6 separate regions of the Homo sapiens genome follow, and regions 1, 2, 3, 4 and 6 are each linked to region 5. Evidence: promoter capture Hi-C in 16 types of primary human blood cells and fetal thymus (Javierre and others, 2016). All regions are on one chromosome and are shown on one strand. Each heading gives the region's core, a stretch centred on a gene start or on the middle of the fragment in contact. The rest is flanking DNA. Distances are from core to core; before and after follow the strand shown.

The links. The method cuts DNA at HindIII sites, captures the fragments that hold promoters and counts their contacts. A CHiCAGO score of 5 or more calls a contact.
Region 1: a fragment that was not itself captured here is called in contact with the fragment with the promoter of SMCO1 in region 5 in 1 of 17 cell types (endothelial precursors); the score reaches 5.7 in endothelial precursors.
Region 2: a contact is called between a fragment that was not itself captured here and the fragment with the promoter of SMCO1 in region 5, in 4 of 17 cell types (endothelial precursors, M2 macrophages, erythroblasts and 1 more). The highest score is 13.2, in endothelial precursors.
Region 3: a fragment that was not itself captured here is called in contact with the fragment with the promoter of SMCO1 in region 5 in 1 of 17 cell types (endothelial precursors); the score reaches 5.0 in endothelial precursors.
Region 4: a contact is called between a fragment that was not itself captured here and the fragment with the promoter of SMCO1 in region 5, in 1 of 17 cell types (endothelial precursors). The highest score is 5.1, in endothelial precursors.
Region 6: a contact is called between a fragment that was not itself captured here and the fragment with the promoter of SMCO1 in region 5, in 5 of 17 cell types (endothelial precursors, M2 macrophages, M1 macrophages and 2 more). The highest score is 9.6, in endothelial precursors.

The regions. Positions count from the first base shown.
Region 1 is chr3:196,046,560-196,049,517 of GRCh38, forward strand. It overlaps TFRC (transferrin receptor), which reads right to left. Exons shown (of 19, transcript NM_001128148.3): 19 at 2,725-2,958. Among named protein-coding and RNA genes, the nearest start is that of TFRC, 34 kb to the right of the region's middle. The HindIII fragment of the contact is 5,207 bases long and covers 1-2,958 here.
Region 2 is chr3:196,023,718-196,026,424 of GRCh38, forward strand. LOC124909478 (a long non-coding RNA gene) reads right to left here. Exons shown (of 5, transcript XR_007096234.1): 3 at 89-241. Among named protein-coding and RNA genes, the nearest start is that of TFRC, 57 kb to the right of the region's middle. The HindIII fragment of the contact is 4,121 bases long and covers 1-2,707 here.
Region 3 is chr3:196,950,456-196,953,427 of GRCh38, forward strand. It overlaps PIGZ (phosphatidylinositol glycan anchor biosynthesis class Z (Gwada blood group)), which reads right to left. Exons shown (of 3, transcript NM_025163.4): 2 at 1,366-1,576. The coding sequence starts at 1,576. Among named protein-coding and RNA genes, the nearest start is that of NCBP2AS2, 9.3 kb to the left of the region's middle. RefSeq lists a silencer at 903-1,197. The HindIII fragment of the contact is 3,758 bases long and covers 1-2,972 here.
Region 4 is chr3:196,190,170-196,193,019 of GRCh38, forward strand. No RefSeq gene overlaps it. Among named protein-coding and RNA genes, the nearest start is that of ZDHHC19, 20 kb to the right of the region's middle. RefSeq lists enhancers at 691-1,309, 2,270-2,339, 2,295-2,850. The HindIII fragment of the contact is 5,680 bases long and covers 1-2,850 here.
Region 5 is chr3:196,514,096-196,516,795 of GRCh38, forward strand. It overlaps SMCO1 (single-pass membrane protein with coiled-coil domains 1), which reads right to left and starts at 1,251. Exons shown (of 3, transcript NM_001077657.3): 1 at 1,065-1,251. The coding sequence starts at 1,114. The HindIII fragment of the contact is 1,040 bases long and covers 233-1,272 here.
Region 6 is chr3:196,220,882-196,223,748 of GRCh38, forward strand. The region is part of intron 2 of SLC51A (solute carrier family 51 member A); the gene reads left to right. Among named protein-coding and RNA genes, the nearest start is that of SLC51A, 5.8 kb to the left of the region's middle. The HindIII fragment of the contact is 1,709 bases long and covers 737-2,445 here.

The DNA of each region.
Region 1 (2,958 bases), core at 22-2,521, 470 kb before region 5:
GCACTTTGGGAGGCTGAGGCAGGTGTATTACTTCAGTCCAGGAGTTTGAGACCAGCCTGGGTAATAAGGCAAAACCCCATCTCTCAAAAAATACAAAAATTAGCTTAGCTGGGCATGGTGTTGCCTGTCTGTAGTCCCAGCTACTCTCAGGAGGCTTAGGTAGGATAGCTGGAATCCAGGAGGCGGAGGTTGCAGCAAGCTGAAATCATGCCACTGCAATCCAGCCTGGGTGACAAGAGCGAGACCATCTCAAAATAAAAAAAGAAAAATTGGTAATTGTGGAGATTTAGAGGGATGACAACTCTGGAGACTAAGAGGAAAATACTTTTTAATACAGACTTTTCTGCACTTTGACCGTATGTGAATATTTTCAAAAAAGGCATTAAAAATTATACAAAGCTGGCCAGGTGCGGTGGCTCACGCCTTTAATCCCAGCACTTTGGGAAGCCAAGGCGGGCGGATCACCTGAGGTCAGGAGTTCGAGACCAGCCTGGCCAACATGGCGAAACCCCATCTCTACTAAAAATACAAAAATTAGCCGAGCATGGTGGCATGCACCTGTAATCTCAGCTACTGGGGAGGCTGAGGCAGGAGAATCGCTTGAACCTGGAAGGCAGAGGTTGCAGTTAGCTGAGATCACGCCATTGCACTCCAGCCTGGGCAACAAGAATGAGACTCCATTTCAGAAAAAAAAAAAAAAGAAAAGAAAAGAAAATTATACAAAGCTGTCCATTTGGGGTGGATTAAGCATGAGGCAGCTTAAAGGGCAAATGCAGCAAACTGCAAAGGCTTTATTTAACTCAGCACCTAAACCTGTTGACAGCCACAAGGAAGACATTGGTATCTGATATTGAATTCTAGGCAAAGCTGTCTTGCAGATAACCAGGTGTTTTACAAATATTTGTTTAGGACAGCTTCCTAACCCATGACCTTTCACATAGGCAGTTTCTCCCGTAGAATACAGCAGTTTAATAATCATCTTGCTTCTCAAGGGTATGAATGTGGCTAATTTGGACACGGGAAAGCTGGGGCATAGGTGAGGCAATTAGGCTTCCAATTCTAGGGGCCACAATTTTCGTGGCCATACTTAAGAATCCTGGCTGGCACTCATAGCAATGAGATTCAATTGTGTGATGGATTTTTTGGTAACCACACGGTAGAAGGCCAAAATAAGAAAACTCTCAACAATTACGCCTTTTGCTATAGAGCTGGTGTCCACTAACCATGTGGCTACTGAGCACCTGAAATGTGGCTAGCCAAAACTGAGATGTGCATTGCTTGAGGTACAAGGGAGTTTGAAGACACGGTATGGAGCACACCTGTAATCCCAGCCTCTCAGGAGGCTGAGGCACAAGAATTGCTTGAACTTGGGAGGTGGAGGTTGCAGTGAGCTGCGATGGCACCACTACACTCCAGCCTAGGCGATGGGGCGAGACTGTCTCGGGAAAAAAAAAAAAAAGGAGGCAGAGCGTGGTGGTGGCTCACACCTGTAATCACACACTTTGGGAGGCTGAGGTGGGCAGATCACTTGAAGTCAGGAGTTCAAGATCAGCCTGGCCAACATGGTGAAACCCCATCTCTACTAAAAATACAAAAATTAGCCAGGCGTGGTGGCCCACACTTGTAATCCCAGTTGCTCAGGAGGCTGAGGCAGGAGAATCACTTGAACCCAGGAGGTGGGGGTTGCGGGGAGCCGAGATAGCGCCACTGCGCCCCAGCCTGGACGACAGCAAAGATTCTGTCTCAAAAATAAATAAAATTACATATGTGGTATATGGTGACAATATATTGTATATTTAGAAATTGCCAATAGAGGCTGGGCATGGTGGCTCACGCCTGTAATCCCAACACTTTGGGAGGCTGAGGCAGGCGGATCACCTGAGATCAGGAGTTCAAGACTAGCCCGGCCAACATGGTGAAACCCCACGTCTACTAGAAATATGAAAATTAGCTAGGCGTGGTGGCAGACACCTGTAATCCCAGCTACTCGGAGGCTGAGGTAGGAGAACTGCCTGAGGCGGAGGCTGCAGTGGGCTGAGATCGCCCACTTAGAAGACAGCAGCAATCATGTACCTTGGTATTTACCTAAAGAGCTGAAGACCTATGTTCACAGAAAAGATATACACACAGGTGCTTATCAGTTTATTCATAACTGCCAAAACTTAGAAGCAAGATTACTTAGTAAGTAGGTGAGCTAGATAAACTATGGTAACTGCAGACAACAGAATATTGTTCTGTGCTAAAAAGAAATGAGGTATCATGTCATGAAGACATGGAGGAAACAAATGCTATTGCTTAGTGAAAGAGGCCAATCTGAAAAGGCTATATTCTGATTCCAACTGTATGACAGTCTGGAAAAGGTAAAATTATGGATATAGTAAGATCTGTGGTTACCAGGGCCTTATAGAAGAGATGGATGAATGGGCAGAGCACAAGATTTACAGCAATAAAAACTATTCTGTAAGCTACTAGAATGATATTACATATTTGTCAAAAACCGTAGAACAAACCCTAACGTAAACAGTAGACTAATGATGCTGACGGTGCTAATGGTGCACCCGTGTAGGCTGCCCATTGTAACAAATATGCCGCTCTGGCGCAAGCTGTTGACCGTCATGGAGGATGTGTAAGTGGCAGAAACAGTGGATGTGTGGGAATTCTGTTTAATTTTGCTATGAGCCTAAAACTGCTCTTTTTAAAAAATTTATCTAAAGAAATGACAACTCAGTGTTTAAGTATTTTATTAAATCAGACAAGGAATCTCCACACTGTTGCACATAACAGCTTTTATACAATGATAAGGACATATCATTTGTTTACAAAGAAAGTCTAAAATTTCAAGAACATTCAAAGAGCTAACACAGTAAAGGTCATGCAAGTTCTAGAATAGTGAATCATGACAGAACTCATTCATTTTATCCTTTACCTCCAAAAGGCCCATCTCCTTAACGAGAAGAC
Region 2 (2,707 bases), core at 40-2,539, 490 kb before region 5:
ACACAGCTCCACACGCACCTGCCAAACGCAACAGCCTCTTTCAGCGTCATTAAAATATTTCAACAGGAGGACTGAGTTTAGACTCAACCTGTGTTTTCTCCCCTGGAAAACGAAGGTTTCATGAAGCAAGGAAGGTCTTTACTGTCCTCATCCGAAACGCTGAGGCATCTGTGATGTCTGCTGTAAGTGCCACCAGGCTCTCCGCTGAAATCTCGCAACGGGAAAATAGAGACCGTAGATTCTGCTTTTAGAAAGGGGAGAATCAGAAGTAATGTGGAAATGCCATGTCCTCGTTCATAAACATCTTCTTTTACAAATTCCACAAGTTTAGTTACTTTGGGATTAATATGGGCTTATCTTAAAGTGCGTTTATTAACTTAGCGTGAGTTGTTCAAATGCATTCTGGATCCTGAGCCGACATCCAGCAATGCTGAGTGTGCGCCTGTGTGAGTCACCAGCCCTGATGAGCCTCAGGTTATTGTGTTCGTAAAATGAAGGGGCTTAGGCTTGCTGCGATTTTTTAAAAACCATTTTTAACAGTAAAAATTTTTTTCTTGCTACATAAAAATGTACAAGAAAAACTCAGACATTACCAATGATAAATTATAATTTTATTAATATAAATATTTTTGTGAGCTCAATTTATATGACTTAGTTATTATAAAAGAAATAAGCAATATGAGGTGGCCATTACCATCCTGTCCCGTTTTATTTTGTTCATATGCTATTGATAAATCTTGATGTATACAGAAAAGTAGTTTCAAAGAATAATAATTTTTAAAAAGGACTTGTAATTTCAAGAGACTTTTAAAAAAATCTGCAATTGCTTTTTAAAGGTTCTAAAACAGTTGTCTATGCCTTAAAGCTAAATAACTACAAAGAGCTCACTCTTCTCACATTCTGTATTATAAATATGTAAGTCAGAGAAACAACAGACAAAATCATAAAAACACATGCATGAACAAATGGGCCTTGGTTTACATTTAATTGGATCTTGCAATACACATGGGTTATAGTAGTATTTCTGTGTGTAATTTTACATGAGTGGATTGCTATCAAAATAAAAATTGTCTACAATCTCTTTTCAGTGGTAAATTTGCACAAATGGTAAACATACACATAGAGATAGTGGGAGAAATTTATTTCGTGGCTTGCAAGAAGACAGGTTAAGTTGGGACATTTAATTGTTTCATTAATGCTACATTTTAAATGCACTTGTATGGGCATGGTATTTTAATGTATTATTATGACTTTTAAATGCTCAATGTTACAGATGGAATATTAGAGCAAGTACTAACTTATATCTTCTTTGTGTGTGCTTTGGAGGCATCAGGAAATAAAGCAGCCCTTTTCCCTTTTCCCAGAAGCTGTGCTTCTGCAGATTAGATCTCTCTGTAACACACACACACCCATGCACGCATGAGCGCACACACACGCGCACACACACGAGCACACGCACGCGCAGGCACACACATGCACACACACGCACACGCACACACACGTGCACACATACACCCAATATAGCCTTTAGGGTTAAAAGGAGGAAAAGAGAATTTGCCTGGATAACTCTTACCCAGGTATTTTCTGGGGAGATCTAGAATAATCTAAGGGGGTAAGCTGGACTAGCCAATGGGAAATCAAAACGAAGATACTGGAGAGATGTTCCCAGAAAAGGAGCATTCCTAATGGGCTTGGCCCTAGTCACATGCAATTCCCCAGATGTGGTTGGTGTGGCCAAGGTTCCAGCATTTGTCAGCTGCTTTCTTGCCACTTCTTGTGCTGTGAGGAGTATCCCCTCCCCAATGCCAGAGGCAGTCGTCCTCTAACCCCCTTCAGAGTAAAGGGCCAGCAATTGGCAGTCACAGGAAAAGTAGTGAGACAGGAAGGTGCGGAGCATGAAGTCCCACCATACCGGCCTCCAGTGTCTGGCACAGAATATGACGAGGAACCTCCGTGAATTGGAATCTTCCACATCTTGATATATGGGAGTTTCTGCTAGATATAATTTGACTTAAAAAAGAAAGAAATATGACCTTCTTCACCTAAATATTGTAGAAGAGGTAATGATTGCAACCTGGATGTTTTACATTCTGAGATGCTATTAAACCAATATTCATCACAAATGTATTGATAATTTTTTAGAAGAACAGAAGAGATCCCATCATATTAAATGAAGTGTATCAATTATAAGATGCATGCTAACTCCAGAAAAAGCAAAGCATGAAAAAAATCTGTCTTAGAATGGAAAAATACAGTAGTTAAACTATTTTTAACTGGAATTTAAATGCAACATTTTAGGATATGAAGCTGTCAACTCATTTTGAAAACTGCTGGCTCAGATGACCTCAGCGATAGGAAACCTCTAAAAGATCATGAATCTAATCAGGTAATTTTCTGTGCCTTTGCCTGAGAGTCTAGCTGAAAGTGGTGCAGTTTTTACAGAAGAGGAATAACGTGTCCCGAACTGGGAACCCTTCACCGGCCACCACTCCAGGCGGCGCTTCACTGTGGAGTTTTGGTCGCCAGAGGGCTCCAGGGGACTGCTGGGGAAGGCCAGGACATGGAAGAGGGCCTAGAGCCAGGGTTACCCGGGAGGGGGTGGACCCATTTTGCCAAGCACCTGAGGACCATACCGTACAGGATCCTCTCAAAACCACCCGCACACTAGGTGGGAATAAAGGATAAGAGAAATTAATGTGTGCTTAGC
Region 3 (2,972 bases), core at 38-2,537, 440 kb after region 5:
TGATCACCTGCTGGCTGTTTCGAGCTGATCATACAGCCTGCGGATCATTCGGGCTCTTTGATTCTGCTACTTATTTCTCCAGACTTTCAGCTGTTTTATCTATCTATGTTAGATGTTGAAAGGGAAGCAAAATCCAGGATCAAATCTATCTGGCTGCTTTTCTGGTTAAAAAACGACGTGAGGGAAAGAAGATGAGCCTTTTAACTTAAAAAACAAATTCACCTGTTGAGCCCTGTGGCAAAGAAAGCTGATGCCTCCAAAATATCTATTCCCTCCTCCTTCATTAGACTTTTTTTTTTCTTTTTTTGAGATGGAGTCTCGCTCTGTTGCCCAGGCTGAAGTGCAGTGGCACAATCTTGGCTCACTACAACCTCCACCTCCTGGGTTCAAGCAATTCTCCTGCCTCAGCCTCCCAAGTAGCTGGGATTACAGGCGCCTGCCACCATGCCAGGCTAATGTTTTGTATTTTTAATAGAGATGGGGTTTCATCATTTTGGCCAGACTGGTCTCAAACTCCTGACCTCAGGTGATCCACCTGCCTCAGCCTCCCAGAGTGCTGGGATTACAGGCGTGAGCCACTGCATCTGACTCCTTTGACTCTTTTTCTGGGCACTTGGTCAGATATAAAGACTATAATTTTTAGCTTCCTTTGCAGCTAGGTGTGGCCTCATGATACATTCTGCCCAGTGTGATAGAAATGAGCAAAAAGCATGCGCCCTTCAAAATATGACCTTAAAGAGAGAAGTAATGCCCTTCTCCTTTGTTGGCTGGAAAGACTGCCTGTAGGCTTGATGGCTGGAGCTCAAGCAGCCGTCTTGAACTATGAGGATGACCCCACATGCCCATCACATCTGAAAGGCCTCAAGGCCTTTGGGCGAGACGGTATGGGCCAGGCAACCAGCCTCATGATGTGTCCCACACCGCCTAACAGATGAGTGAGTGTCCCAGGTCTGGGTTCCCTTACCCCTCTCTTGAATCTACAGAAGAGAAGTTTCATGATCTCAGATCACAGCCCTATGGAAGCTCTTGCCAAACACTGGGGAAGCCTAACTCTAATAAAAGTGTTCCCATGGGAAGTCCAACACAGCTCTCATTCTGAATGACCTGTATTGTTGGTCCAAGCAGGGATACATCAAAGAGACTGGTGGTTTATTAGCATTACCCAGAAGGTCAGTGTCACCACTCGGGAAGGAGATATGAAGTCCCCACTTCCAAGTTCTTACCCCAGAGAGAGAGGCTGCTGCTCTGCTTGTGGATTTACTACTCATCTACCCAGACATGCTACTCCCTCCCCACAAAGTCTCCCGTCAGCTTCTCAAGCAGACTCTGCTGCAGCTTGTCTCAGCCACACATGCGGAGTTTTACCTGCCATCACCTCAGGGGACTGGAAGAACTCATCTGGGTGCACATAGCCCGTCTGCGGAAGGAGACACCACAGCACTCGGAGCAGGCTGAGACCACCCCAAAGCACCCTGACTGCCATCTTCAGATCCAGTTGTTGCCAACACACCGGGCCCAAAACCTGGAATGATGTCCCAGCTGCTACAGATGCTACGCTGGATCCACAGATCTGCATCTGTTGAGGATAACAGTTGTTGGTTATCACGATGTAAATTATAATATATTCAACTGTCTGAACAAACTGAAAATGGATCTGTCATTTAATAAAAATGACAATAATAATAATAGCTACTTCATACTCTATGCCCACTAACTGCCAGGCACGTGACATGCATATTTCATTTAATCCTTTCCACAGTCTGGAGCAGTGGGTCTTAGGATCCCTGTTGTACAGATGGGGAAACGGAGGCCTCTGCTGAGTAACTTGGTTACTTGCTGATCATATTTGCTAAGGAGTCTGATGGTTCATTTTATGTGTCCACTTGACTGGCCTAAGAGATACCCAGATAGCTGGTAGAACATTATTTCTGGCAGTGTCTATAAGGGTATTTCAGGGAGAGATTAGCCTTTGTTGTGGTTTTTTTGTTTGTTTGTTTTTTGAGACGAAGTCTTGCTCTGTCACCCAGGCTGGAGTGCGGTGGCATGATCTGGGCTCACCGCAACCTCCACCTCCCAGGTTCAAGTGATTCTCCTGCCTCAGCCTCCTGAGAAGCTGGGATTACAGGCACACGCCACTACGCCCGGCTAATTTTTGTATTTTTAGTAGAGACGGGGTTTCATCATGTTGGTGAGGCTGGTCTTGAACTCCTGACCTCATGATCCGCCCACTTTGGCCTCCCAAACTCCTGGGATTACAGGCGTGAGCCACCGTGCCCAGCTAAGATTAGCCTTTGAATTGGTAGACTAAGAAGATCAGCTGCACCAGTGTGGGTGGGCATGATCCAACCCATTGAGGGTCTGAATAAAACAGAAAGGTGGAGGAAGGGTGAATTTGCACTCTCTTCAGCTGGGATAGCCATCTTCTCCTGCCTCAGACATCGGTGCTCCTGGTTCTTGGGTCTTCAGACTCTATGTCTCACACCAGTGTGCCCCAACCCACCTCCCTGAATCAAGCTCTCAGGCCGTCGGACTAGGACTGGGAGTTACACTGTAGGCTCCTCTGTTTCTAAGGCTCCCGACTCAGACTGAATTCAACCACCAGCTTTCCTGGTTCTCCAGCTTGCAGGTGTCAGATTGTGGGACTTCACCAGCCCCCATAATTGCATGAGCTAATTTTCATAGTAAATGATAAAGCCAGTTCCCTATTGTTTCTGTTTCTCTGGAGAATCCTGACTTATACAGGGTCTAAATATGACATTTGCTCAATGTGACATTTGCAAGGAAGATCAGGGTACCCAACAAATCTGGGTCTTGCAGCCCATCCTGATCACCAGCTCCTATCCACAGGCCAGTATGGCAGGCTGCTTCTTGCATTTCTGAAAACTTGGGAAAGTCAACGGATGCCACCCATTTCCCTGCAAAAATTACACTCAACCCCATTGTTTCCAGTCACTCCCTCCAACTTTCACACA
Region 4 (2,850 bases), core at 282-2,781, 320 kb before region 5:
AAGGCTCAGAGTGAGCTGGGCACCACCAGGCCTTGAGGCCTTCCAGAGGCTTCTACTCCAGGGCACTCTGAGGCCGGGGGCTGTGGGTGGCTAACAGACTATGCCGCCAGCTGGGAGCAGAGGGGGCCCCATCTCTGCCCCAAATCCAAGTCTGGCCAGCTCCTTCCCCTAGGGATAGATACTTGGTGGGGAAGAGAGGGAGCTGAGAAGGTCACCCAAGAAAGGTGAGCCGGGCCGTCTGCCTGGGAGTCAGAATGAGGTGGCCCATCCTCGGACTTGACCATTTCCCAATGCCCTGTTTAATTTAATTTTTTATTTTATTATATAGGGACAGGGTCTCAATATATTGCCCAGGCTAGTCTCGAACTCCTGGACTCACATGACCCACTTGCCTCGGCCTCCCAAAGTGCTGGGACTACAGGCATGAGCCACCACCCCCACCCCCCAGATAATCTAAATTCAGAGCCTGCAAAAGGCTCAGGGCCCAAGGAGAGAAAATGGAGACAGAAGAGAAAGGGAATTTCTCCCTCCAGGTCCCCACGCCTGAGTCAGACCCTCTCACTGTTTCCTTTACAACCACCGCACACCCACCTGGACCTGGCCTAAGAAAAGGAATACAAGTCCATGAAGGTTCTCCCTTCTTTTTCTTCTTTTTCTTCTTCTTTTTCGTCTTTTCTTCTTCTTCTTTTTCCTCCTCCTCCTCTTCTTCTTCTTCTTTCTTCTTCTGTCGCCCAGGCTGGAGTGTAATGACGCGATCTTGGCTCACGGCAACCTCCACTTCCGTATCTCAAGGAATTCTCCTGCCTCAGCCTCTGGGACTACAGGTGTGCGCCACCACACCCGGCTAATTTTTGTATTTTTTGTAGAGACAGGGTTTCGCTATGTTGGCCGGGCTGGTCTTGAACTCCTGACCTCAGGTGATCCGCCCACCTCGGCCTCCCAAAGCGCTGGGATTACAGGCATGAGCCACCATGCCCGGCCCATCATGTACCCTTCTGATCCTACAAGCGCACTGTGAGGTCGGCCGGGCATGGAGTTTGGTTTCAACTTCACGTTGAGATCGGAGCAGCTCTGAGAGGTCGGGGCTTCATCCAGGGCCACACATCCAGCTGGCAGCAGAGCCACCTGTCCACCCAGCTCTCCGGATGCCCGGCCTGTGCTCCCTACACAGCCGCTTACTGCCCTGCCAGGAAAAGGCAGGCAGGAGGGATCTTTCCACTCCCATTAGGGGCTGAGGAACAGGCATCTAGGAGCTAAATCTGACTGGGGGAGTCTCCCAGCCCAGACAGCCCAGGGCCCTGCCCAGGGGTCAGTGCTTTCACTTGCTGACCTCATGCCTCCACCACTACTCGGGGACAGATGAGGTTCAGCATGACTCAGGTTCAGCCAAAGGATACTAATGGGCCATGGAATAAATCCTGCCTGGAGCCCTGTTCACCTCAGGACTTGTCCTCAGACCATGGACCTTCCTCCCTGGTCACTCAGTCAAGGAATCGCAGGAGATCAGTGCAAGAGTAGCTCTGAATGGGCCGGGCGCGGCGGCTCACGCCTGTAATCCCAGCACTTTGGGAGGCCGAGGCGGGTGGATCACGAGGTCAGGAGATCGAGACCATCCTGGCCAACACGGTGAAACCCCGTCTCTACTAAAAATACAAAAGATTGTCCGGGCGTGGTGGCGGGCGCCTGTAGTCCCAGCTACTCGGGAGGCCGAGGCAGGAGAATGGCGTGAACCCGGGAGGCAGAGGCTGCAGTGAGCCGAGATCGCACCACCGCACTCCAGCCTGGGCGACAGAGCGAGACTCCGTCTCAAAAAAATAAAAAAATAAAAATAAAAAACAGTAGTCCTGAAGCCCCCAGCCCAGCACACCTGGTCTTTGCAGGCCCGAGACACCCACAAGAGTAACAGCAGCGCCTCATTCAGGAGGCTGAGGACTAAGTGAGCAAACGCAGGCCGAGTGCTTCCCCAGGCCTGGACCTCCATTAGCATTCAACTGTGTTGTCATTGCTGTCATTGCTACACTGGAGTCAGATCACTAGGCCTTTAGGAGGAAGAACGTGCCCTTCCTGTTGACAGGCCGGGCCTCTGACCCAGGCGTCTCCTCTCCGTGGGGTGGCAGGAAGGGCCCAGGACTCAGGTGGCAGATCAGGGACCCCCTGGCCTGGCCTCTGCTCAGCTGTGTGATCTTGGGGAAGCCCCGCCTTGCGTCCCCCACCGCCTTGGTTTTCTTCTTGCTGAGAAGTGAGGGAGGTGGCTGGCTGTTCAGCAGGGCCCCTTCCACTTTGGGAATCCCCAGTTTCAGCAGCAGAACTTCCCCAAGCAGAAAGCTGCTGGGAAAGTGGGTGCCCAGGTGGGAGGCGGAAGCCCCAGGGAGAGGCAGACGAAGGTGCCCTGTGCGGGCCCCGCCTCCAGCCTGGTGGACAGTGCCCTGGGTTTCCATGCCCAGACCAGGGCCTTCCTGGAACCGCAGCCAGGACGTGAGAAGCTGTCAGACAGCTGCCTCTGTGTTCCTGGAAGCTGTGGTTCAGGAAAAGTGGGAGGGAGAGAAGGAGGGAGAGAGCAATCGAGGGAGAGCAGAAGAGTGTGAAGAGAAAGAGAAAGACAGGAGGAGGAGCAAGGGGAAGGGAGGAGGCAAGCGTGGAAAGGTGAGAAGAGGTGAGGCAGAGGCCTACGTGGAGAGGCAGAGCCTGGGACGCTGCCTGCGGGGGAGGTCAGGTGAGGAGCAGGGAGGGCGGAGGCTGTGAGCAGCCACCCTGGAACAGAGCTCGGAACACCATTGCTTTTGCCTTCCTTCAGCCTGAAACACTGCCTGGCCACAAAGCAGAAGCAGCAGTTGCTTTCTTAACAGGAGG
Region 5 (2,700 bases), core at 1-2,500:
TCCAGACACATTCTTCTAAAACACAATTCCGATTCTGTGACTCAACTGATTACAAATGGTTTATGTCATCCTGGCTTGCCCAGTGATATACTCAGAGGCAAACTGGATCTCCTCAGCAGGAAAGTCAAGGGCCTTCACCCTTTGCTCCTGTCTTCCACCAGTCCCCTCACCCATCCTAGTTACCAATTACACGAGACATCTAGTTGCTGCTTGAATACATTATGTGGTTCCAAGCTTACATATGGCTTATATGCACTGTTTCCTCAGCCTAGAATGCCTTCCCATATTTTTCTCCCTCATAAGCTCCTACTTGCACTTTAAGATCCAGCTTAAATGACCCTATATGAAGAGTTCCTTTTTCTAGTGTCAAAGGCAAAATTGGTTGATCCTCCCTTCATGTTCGCATAGACCTTTAGGAACATCACCATTGTAAGGTCAGTCACATTAAATTGTAAATGTTTTTCAAACTTTTCTCTTTCCTACAGGCTGTGAGCTCCTTGAGGGCAGAAACCACATTTTACTTATTTTTGTAAATCTAGGATTTAGCATATGCATACATTCAATGGAGTTACAGCACCTGGGAGCAGACTTTTCTTTATTGTTAATTTACATAGGTTTGGGCCTGGAAGACTTAAACCACTGTAATAGAGACGGAATTCTTTTTTTGGACGGAGTCTTGCTCTGTTGCCAGGCTGGAGTGCAGTGGCACGATCTCGGCTCACTGCAACCTCCACCTCCCGGGTTCAAGTGATTCTCCTGCCTCAGCCTCCCAAGTAGCTGGGACTACAGGCGCCCGCCACCATGCCTGGGTAATTTTTGTATTTTTAGTAGAGGCAGGGTTTCACCATGTTCGCCAGGCTGGTCTCAATCTCTTGACCCTGTGATCCGCCCACCTCGGCCTCCCAGTGTGCTGGGATTACAGGTGTGAGCCACCGCACCGGCCACAGAGACAGAATTCTAATGAGCATGTCTGCAGTTCTTTATTTCTATTCTTCATTCTTCTCTTACCCATCTTCCCAGAATAGCAGACCCATGCTTGCTCCCTCCCTATAGCCCTCAGCAACCTTTTCATTGCCTCCTTCAAGGATATCAGGGTTGTGGTTTCATTGTTCATCTTCTGAAGGCAAAAGGAAAGAAAACAAAAACAAAGCAAAACAAAAAAAGCAATAAATGTTTGAATCCAGAATTTTCTGCGGTCTTCCTCTCAGCAACAGGCAGCAGTAGCAGGAGCGCTCAGTCTACATTCTGCCTGAAAGGTCACTCAGTACAAGAAGCTTTTAATAGCCTGCAGATCCAAATATAGTTTCAAAGAACTTATCTCGTGGACACAGGTGTCCTGGAATGCACTATAACATTTGCCTTTGAAAACTGAACCATAGTACATTAACATACAGCAACAACCATGTATAATTAATGACTGTGTACATTATGGTAAATGTATATACAGATACATTAACGTAACGTATAGGATTAAGTTTGATGGAAATATTACTGTCATATTTTAACTGCTTCATTATTCAATTACAACCTAAATTAGGTTTGAAGAGTGCCCCAGATCTTTTATGATGATGATATCAAAGCAAAAAATCTAACTATCATTAGAAACTACTAAATACTTGTTATGGCTGGGTATGGTGGCTCACTCCTGTAATCCCAGCACTTGGGGAAGCCAAGGTGGGAGGATTGCTTGAGCCCAGGAATTCAAGACCAGCCTGGGCCACAGAGCGAGACTGTCTCCACAAAAAATACAAAAATTAGCCAGGAGTGGTGGTGCATGCCTGTAGTCCCAGCTACTCAAGAGGCTGAAGTGGGAGGACTGCTTGAGCCCAGGAGTTCGAAGCTGCAGTGAGCTATGATCATGCCACTGCACTCCAGCCCGGGCAAGAGGATAGGATATATATATATATATATATATATATATATATATATATATATAATTATATATAAAATTATACATATAATTATATATAATATATAATTTATATCGTATATAAAATATATATATAATTTTATATAATTATATATATATTAGATTAGGAATTGAATATAAATGTGGAAATAAAATAGGACTGCTGTTTTCATGAGATTTAAAATCTAGTTGGGAAGAAAGAATATATCCTTAAATAGAAAATGTATATGGGATGTGTGCTAAGTAGATAGAGACCATAAAAATAATAGAAGGTGAGAGACTAAGTCACTGAAATCTTGGGTCCTTGGGGAGATATTCACCCTGAAGGTGGTACTTGGCTTGGCCTTAAAGGTCAAGGTCTTTGATTATCAGAGAAGAGTGTTAAGGGTGTTACGAACTGGAGAAATTGTGTGAGCAAAATCACAGAGGTGGCAAAGTAAATGATGTGTTCAGGAAACAATGAGTAGGTATGTTTTGAGCAAAAGATTCATATAAGAAAAAGAAAATAACCACACCATTTAAACTGGTAAGAGCCATGTCACGTATTTGTTCTTTCACTGAATACTTTATTCACTTATTCAATATTTACTGAGCATCATAGATATTAATTGAATGTATAAAACCTACGAATGGATGAGCAGCACTATTCCAGGCACTGGTAATATAGTGATAAGTAAGGCGAAATCCTTGTCCTCAAGGAACATACTAGCAGGGAGACAGCACATAAGGCTTATAAGAGAGGGGATGCTTCTAGCTAGCTTGGTAAGGAGTTTGGACAGATGTGAGCTGTT
Region 6 (2,867 bases), core at 341-2,840, 290 kb before region 5:
TAATTTTTCTTTTTTTTTTTTTTTTTGAGACAGGGTCTCACTGTGTCACTCAGGCTGGAGTGCAGTGGTGCGATCTCGGCTTACCCCAACCCTCCACCTGCTGGGCTCAGGTGATCCTCCCACCTCAGCCTCCCTAGTAGCTGGGGACCACAGGCACATGCCACCAAGCCCAGCTAATTTTTGTATTTTTTTGTAGAGGTGGAGTTTCTCCATGTTGCCCAGGCTGGTCTCGAACTTAAAATTAAATGCTAAGAAAACTATTTCAGGCCAGTCACGGTGGCCCATGCTGCAACCCCAGGAGGTCGAGGTTGCAGTGAGCTATGATTGCACCACCAGCCTCAGCCTGGGCAACAGACCGAAACCCTGTCTCAATTTAAAAAAAAGAGAGAGAGAAAAAAAAGCTATTATTCTAGAAGAATGATTGAATCAATTTTTTTTTTTTAATTTTAAAATCACGGCTCACGGCAGCTCGAGCTCTGGGCTCAAGTGATCCTCCCACCTCATCCTCTCGAGTAGCTGGGACTGCAGGCACACACCACCATGCCTGGGCTAACTTTCAATTTTTGTAGAGACAGAGTCTGACTTCGTTGCCCAGGCTGATCTCAAACGCTCCAGCTCAAGCGATCCTCCTGCCTCGGCCTCCTGAAGGGCTGGGATTACAGGCGTGAATCACTGCGCCCGGCCTTAAAGCTACTTTTTATTGAACAAATACTACACGCCAGGTGCTTTGCTAAGAAGCTTAAGGAGAGGATAAGTAACCTGTCTATGGCCATAGAGCTATTAGTAAGTGGCATTTTACTTTGTTTTTGTTTGTTTGTTTGTTTGGTTTGGTTTTTTGTTTTTTTTTTTTAAGAGACAGAGTCTCGCTCTGTCCCCCAGGCTGGAGTGCAGTGGTGTGATCTCAGCTCACTACAAGCTCCGCCTCCCAGGTTCACGCCATTCTCCTGCCTCAGCCTCCCGAGTAGCTGGGACTACAGGCGCCCGCCACCACACCCGGCTAATTTTTTGTATATTTTTTAGTAGAGACGGGGTTTCACCGTGTTAGTCAGGATGGTCTCGATCTCCTGACCTCGTGATCCGCCCGCCTCGGCCTCCCAATGTGCTGGGATGACAGGCGTGAGCCCCCCCGCCCGGCCTGGCATTTTGCTTTGAACTCAAGTGTCTGACTCCAGTGCTCTACACTGTGCTCCTAAGCTACTGGAAGCAAATATGCAAGCATGGAAATAATTTTTGGTTAGAAAGCTGGGATTATGGGTGATTACTCTTTTTTCAAATTCTTATTTAATGTTCCTGTTTTCATTATTTTAAAAAGTAGTCTTTGCTATTCCAGAGACAGTGGGAAATTTAATAGTTGCTATAAGTATGATTATATTCAAAATGGTCAACTAGACAAGCATTTCCCAAAGTCTCAGACTCTTAATCCCAAGGAGTCCTTCATGGAAACAGAGTTCTGTAGGAAGTTAAGTTTTGTGACCAGGCACGGTGGCTCACACCTGTAATCCCAGCACTTTGGGAGGCCGAGGCGGGTGGATCACTTGAGGTCAGGAGTTTGAGACCAGCCTGCCCAACATGGTGAAACCCTATCTCTACTTAAAATACAAAAATTAGCTGGGCATGGTGGTGGGTACCTGTAATCCCAGCTACCTGGGAGGCGGAGGCAGAAGAATTGCTTGGATCCACGAGGCGGAGCTTGCAGTAAGCCGAGATCGCGCCACTGCACCCCAGCCTGGCGACAGAGTAAGGCTCCATCTCAAAAAAAAAAAAAAAGTTAAGTTTTGTAAAAGGTGCGTTCTAGACCCTCCTTTTGGAAATTTACAATGTAAATTAGCAGATTAAAAATGTCAGTATGCTCTGCAGGAATCATCACATTTAACCTTAATGCATTTCCAAAAATTCTTCAGCTGTGGAATACTTTTGTCCCATAGTGTCTATTTAGATGCCCTTTTGGGGAAATTGAGTTTAACCAGCAAAGAAGAGGCCATCTCCTAAGAAGATAGTTTGATGGACAGACCCAGTATCGGGCTATGGATGCTAAGGAACTTTTCCTTTCCTAATTAGAGTACCAAAGGCAACAGTTAGAAGACACTGCAAAACCATTTGTGTTGAACAGTCAGAATCTGCCCCACCCTCACCTTCATAAATGGAACGGCCCTCCCAGGGTTGCCTTTGATGATCTCTCCCATATCCACGAGTACACACACCTGGAGTCACTGTGTGTCATGGTTAATAAGAGTGTGGGCTTAGTCACGAATACCTGCGTTTAAATCTCTGCTCCTTCACTTCCAGGCTGTGTGACCCTGGGAGATGTGCTTCCTTCTCTGAGCCTCGTTTCCTGAAAAAGTCTATGAAATGCAGATGATGATAGGAATTCTCATAGGTTATTTCTTTCATTCAACAAATAGTTACAGAGCCGTTACTCCTCCGGGCGTTTGAGAACAGAGCACAAGCTTGACAAGGTCCCTGCCTCCGTGGAGTGTGCACCACAAGGTGGAGAGCCGAGAATAAGCGAGTAAACAGCTGTGTAAATACAAATAGCCCTGATGTGGGCGGAAGGAGGACATAACGTTACCCGGAATGGAGATTTTCACGGAGCAGGGAGCAGTTAGGGAAATGAAGACTGGGAAGGACTGGGTTGGTGGCGTGTGAAAGGGCAGTTTTTACGCTCTCCAAGGGCTGATGAGCACACGGGGCTGGGGGTAAGAGAGGCTCTAGCAATGGCCCCCGCTTCCCAACCACAGAACATTGGTTTTGGAAAACCACCTGCATTAATGTTGGCTTTTTCCTATCTGGACTTTGCCTATTGTCTGAGTTTTTTTAATTAAACATTTCTATTATAAAAATCATTCAGGTTTAGTTAAAAAAAAAAA